Linked DNA regions of Homo sapiens: region 1 is linked to region 2. Evidence: promoter capture Hi-C in 16 types of primary human blood cells and fetal thymus (Javierre and others, 2016). All regions are on one chromosome and are shown on one strand. Each heading gives the region's core, a stretch centred on a gene start or on the middle of the fragment in contact. The rest is flanking DNA. Distances are from core to core; before and after follow the strand shown.

Region 1 (2,700 bases), core at 76-2,575, 890 kb after region 2:
CTAGGTCACTTGTCCTCTGAGGGCCTGGCTCCTCGTCTGGAAAGTGGGGATGCCCGTGGTGTCTGCTCACACCTGATGCTGAGGACTCCCTCAGAGCGCGCCTACGTGCTGCTTAGTAGCAGGCGAGGGCTCCGTGACATTGGGCAGGCTCGGGGCTAGTCACCATGAGAGAGTGGGCATGGGGGCCTGGGCGGGCACCAGAGGGTGGGCTTCATGAGGAGGGGGCAGGAGGCAACAGACTGAGCAGCTGGGGTGGGGGTGAGGGCTGACCACACAGAGGAGGAGCCTGTGCAGACAGCCCAAGGCCCTGGCCTGGTCCGTGGAGATGGCAGACAGGAGCCTCGGAGGACTCCGCAGGGAGCAAAGCACAGGCAGGGAACCAAGAGGCGGCCCGGGCCTCAGAACCCATCCCTGCATGAGCTCCTCCTGGAAAGAAGGGAGAAAAAAGACAGTTCTCCCCACACAGGCCAGGGGAAAACCCCAAGGTGCTGACGCCCCGAGGCACCCGGAAGGCCAGCGTGGGTGACGCCAAGGAAAAGGGTGTTGGAGCCACGGCGCTCCACAGAGGCCCCTCCTGCACCCCAGCTCCGACTCCACCCTGCCTGGGTGTCTCTGCTGCGGGCTTCAGACCACAAGGAGGTTGGGAAACTGGGCCCAGGGAAGCTGCTTGCCAGAAACCTGGGCTCCAAGGGGCCACCAGGAATACCCAGGGGACAAGTCGCAGGCTGAATCTCACTGATGACACCCTGCCTCCTGGGCCGGTCGGGGCAGAGCCAGCACAGGCAGCAGCGCCAGCAAGGGCGAGGGTTCCCTGTGGGCCCAAACCTGGGCCAGGGCGCTGGGAGTTCGCCATGGGGATCCCAGGGAGCTGGGCCCCACTTTAGTCCCGTCTCGATGAGAGCCTTCTGTCCTCTGGACACTGTCGGGACAGAAACCTGAGGAATTCCAGCCACAGACGTGTCTGTTCAAGGTTTCCACCTGACCCAGAAAGAGGGCAAAGCACCTTCTCCCTGGCATTCCGTGCCCGAGCCTGGTGTCCTCTCCGTGGAGGCACTGCTCGCTCCCCCTGGCCTACCTGGAGGGCTCTGTCTGTCCCCTGGCCCTCACTCCTCCCAGGGAAAGTGTCTGGCTGGGCCCCACCTCACTGGGCCTCAGGACTGCTGCCCCTGGAGTCAGGGGCATTCATTCATAATATCAGTATTTCCTGGGTGCCTGTTCTAGGCCTTGCACGAAATATGCCCCAGTATAATCAGATGGTGGTGGGGGCGGGACACTGAGCTGGCAAAACCGCAGACTTTGGAGTGAGAAAGATTTAGAAGTTGGGCCCTTCTGGAGGAGCCCACATCACTCCCCTCTAAGCAGCCTGACCAGGGACTGACTGGAGCCCACAGAGGGAGGGCAGAGGGGCAGGGACACAGCACAGGCACCTGCAAAGGAGGCACGGGGCACCACCCCAAGAGCTCCTCCTTCATCCTGGCTTGTTGGACAGCAACCAACAGCCCAGGCCGAATACTTGATTTTCATACCAAAAATAAAAAATAAAAATCCTCAGTGTCTACTGGCAGGCCAAGCTCTGGGAGTACAACCTGGGCCCCACATCCAGCCAAAGCTGGGGAACATGGTGCGGCGTGGCCAGAGGGGCTGAGGATCAGCATCCCAAATGCAAGATACAAAGTACTAGGTTTCAACGACCTCATGTGGGCCACGCACCTCTGATCCTCACCAGACCCTGGAGCCACAAGGAGCCAGAGGTCACGTGGCCCTGGGCTCTTCAGAGTTGATTCCCACGGACACCACCGTGCACATGAAATCAGCAGCAGCAGCAGATGCCCAATACGCCTGATCTCATTACCTCCTGCTCGCACACACTGATGGCTTGGCCTTGCCTTTATGATAAAGCACGGCAGCCTCAGGAGGGCTGGGGTCCTGAGAACTCAGTAGGTCCGTGCGGCCCCACATTCCTCCTGCTGCTGTGCCACTGCCCATGGCCTCCCTTGAGTCCTTCCAATACACTGAGCCTCCTGCCTCAGGGCCTTTGCACTTGCTGTTCATGCAGCCTGCAGCATTCCCACCCCACCCCTACCCCTACCCCCCAGCTAACTGATTCAAAGCACAGGCACCAGCTTGCAACTAGAGGAGACACAGAGGGATACGGTTATCCAGTTCCTGCCTGTTGCTCTCCCCAGGCTCTGAGCTCCCGCTGTACAGAGACCTTGACTACTTTGTCCCCCAGTGGCTCCCCAGTGCCTAGCTCTGGGGAAAGGCCAGCTGTCGAAGGGATGAATACGTAATCCCAATAATTACAAAGCCACTCTGACCAAAGTGTGCCTTCCTTGGGGAACCATAACAGGGTTCTCCCAGAGCCCTAGAGTTTTGGGGAACAACATGAAAATGGCCCAAACCTCTCACTTTACAAACAAGGAAACAGAGGCCCTGCAAAGAGCTTTGCCCAGAGTCTTATGGTTAAATTCATGGTTAAAAAGTGTGGAGTCTTGGCCAGGCATGGTGGCTCATGCCTGTCATCCCAGCACTTTGGGAGGCTGAGGCACGTGGATCACCTGAGGTCAGGGGTTCGAGACGAGTCTGGCCAACATGGTGAAACCCCGTCTCTACTAAAAATACAAAAATTAGCCGGGTGTGGTGGCGGGTGCCTGTGATCCCAGCTACTCGGGAGGCTGAGGCACGAGAATCGCATGAACC
Region 2 (2,700 bases), core at 83-2,582:
CAGTGGCGCGATCTCTGCTCACTGCAACCCACGCCTCCCGGGTTCAAGCGATTCTCCTGCCTCAGCCTCCTAAGTAGCTGGGATTACAGGTGTGCGCCACCACGCCCGGCTAATTTTTTGTATCTTAGTAGAGATGGGGTTTCACCGTGTTAGCCAGGATGGTCTCGATCACCTGACGTCGTGATCCACCCGCCTCAGCCTCCCAAAGAGCTGGTATTACAAGCGTGAGCCACCGCGCCCGGCCTTAATTTCAAAAGGTAATAGAGCTAACCAGTCAACACTTCCTTCCCAATCCTTTCTCTTTTGGGTACAGGTGAGTATAAAATCTTACCAACTATCATAGTTAACAAACAAACCATAGCAAAATATGTTTCTATGCTTTTTCTCTTGAGAGCAAAGGACATGGGTATCCTTTCTTAGACGGCTTCTAGGACTTAAGCCAGGAAGAGAACTTGCGTCTCCTACGTCTCTGGAAGGCGTCTCTGGAAGGTGTCCCTTCTTCAATAGACAGAACTAAAACAGAAAGTTCCCTTGACCAAAGCGAAGCAAGCGAGGACAAGGTGGCCACCTGGGTGACTACAACCCCCAGCATGCACTGCTCCTTCTAGGGCGCAGCGACGAACGAAGACGCATTACTTCTGCGATGGGAACGGGGTAGAGGAGCGCGACTACACATCCCAGGATGCAAAGCGCCCCAACTCTAGTCACAACCTGGCTTGCTTTCTGGCTGGCGTTCCCCGCCAAAGGGACACTAGGGGAGGGGATTGTTTCGGTTGGGAATCCCCGAAGTCTACTGGACCGTGACATTTCGAAAGAGGAAGGAAAGTGGAGGAAAGCTGTTTCACTGTAATTCAAAGTAGTTCCCGCGCAGGGTGGCGAGGAGTTATGGGCCCCTTCCATAATTTATTGTTCCTCAAAGGCAATGCCAAGCCCCACTGGTCGCAGCCCTCCAGGGCAGGTGGGAAGTACGTGAAGCCCCAAATCGAAGTTATCAGCCTCTCCCTATTGGCCCTCGCCTCGAGCGCAGGCGCGAGGGCTCTGACTCCGGTCCCCTGGGCCTGGTGAGCGGCAATTGGCCAAAGTCCGCGAAGTAGGAGGCCGGATTGGTAGTTGCTAGCAGGAGCCTGATTTCTTCCTCGACTTCTGCAAGTGATAGAGTGTGATTGGTTTAAATCCGCGGGCACCTGTCGGTGATTGGGTAGAAGCCACAGGCGGGGCGCGGCCATTGGCTGGCTCTGGGGCCATCCCTCCTCGGGCGGGCAGCGAATGATGAAATGGGAACGGGGAGGGGAAAGGCCGCGACGTGAGCGCGCGACCTCCGGCGCCATTTTGTAGAGAAACAAGCGGAGTTAACCGAAGAGGGGGTCGAGGAGAGCCGGAGTCGGGGACCCAGGAGTTTCCTGTGTCCAGCGCTGCCGGAGCCGCCTGAGGTGAGGCGGGTTGGCGTCAGGGGCTAGGGTAGGGTGGCGGTGTCAGCTTGGGAACGCGAGAGCCGGTGGGAGGAGGAACAGGGGTGGACCTGGGGCCACTGGAAGCGTTTCCCGGAGCTCTAGGGAGTGAGAGGCAGCCGGGACGGGGAAGTGGGACGAGGCGGGAGAGGGCGGACTCTTCTCCACACGGCTCTCGGAGGCTTCGCGCTCTGAAGATGAGAGGCCAGCGAGAAGGCTCCAGGAAGCGGAGGGTAGAGCGCGGGGTGAGACCCATGGTGGTCTCTGTCCCGGGCCTGGAGGCTCAGGGGGCGGCAGCGGCGGCAGTTCGTGTCGCTGGGCCTGGCTTCGCGCGGGTTGCACCCCTCTGAGACCTCCACGACCTCCTTAACTACTGTTTCTGTCTCTGCTCCCTGATGGTTGCAGTGGGCATCGGCTTCCGAGGCCTAGGGCTTCTGGCGGGGGGGACCGTGTTTGGAGTTTTTGCATGTTTCCAGTTCTTCTCCGTGTACTCGGAGCTGCCACTCTCCCCGTCTTACGCCCCCAGCACGTTGTCAAAGCCCCCCAGGTTTCGGGTGTCCCCGGATGGGAAGGGCGGGCGGGAGCAAGCACTTCCTTATTACTTGCTACAGGTTTTGTTCCACTCGCGCGCCTGGGCGCTCACACTTTCTTTGAAGTTGGCCCCCACCTACTCGGTCCGGTGTCTGCAGTAGTGGCGGTCCTGCTCACCCAGGACAAGTGTCCCGCTAGTGAGCTGAGCACTTGTAGGCCTCAAGGCTGATAAGATCCACGGCAGGTCTTGTAGAGGTACTTAAGGCCAAACACAAATAATACTTTTTCAGTACCACCTCCTTTGCAGAATTCACCCAAGAGGGCTCACAGATACTAACTCCCCGAGGAGTAAGCTTTGTAGATTAAAAAAGAATGCTTGACATCTGTGCGTTTGAAAATGTTGTATTTAAAATAAACTTTATGACAAACTTTTCCCATGAAGTTAATCAAATGTCACATTTCTTAGGACTCTAATAAAGTCTGTTTTCTTCCTGAAAACTGAGTAACAATGCTTAACCTACCCTGCCGATTTCTCTACAATTCGATAGCCTGTGACTACTTGGGTTTTTTTTTTTTTTTAAGTCAGTGATTGAGTGAATATAATTATACTGTTTGAAACAATGCCGAACGTTTTCCTTATGACAGCCCCTTTGATAGGAATAGGGAATACATGGATTAAAAAAATGAGGGAAGGCAAGTAAAATATTAGGAGGAAGGTCAA

The links. The method cuts DNA at HindIII sites, captures the fragments that hold promoters and counts their contacts. A CHiCAGO score of 5 or more calls a contact.
Region 1: a contact is called between a fragment that was not itself captured here and the fragment with the promoter of CNOT1 in region 2, in 1 of 17 cell types (non-activated CD4 T cells). The highest score is 8.1, in non-activated CD4 T cells.

Annotation. Positions count from the first base shown.
Region 1 is chr16:57,738,350-57,741,049 of GRCh38, reverse strand. The region is part of intron 2 of KATNB1 (katanin regulatory subunit B1); the gene reads right to left. Among named protein-coding and RNA genes, the nearest start is that of KATNB1, 3.9 kb to the right of the region's middle. The HindIII fragment of the contact is 6,249 bases long and covers 1-2,700 here.
Region 2 is chr16:58,628,458-58,631,157 of GRCh38, reverse strand. It overlaps CNOT1 (CCR4-NOT transcription complex subunit 1), which reads left to right and starts at 1,332. Exons shown (of 49, transcript NM_016284.5): 1 at 1,332-1,430. RefSeq lists enhancers at 465-954, 1,245-1,454, 903-1,578, 1,579-2,255. The HindIII fragment of the contact is 12,291 bases long and covers 1-2,334 here.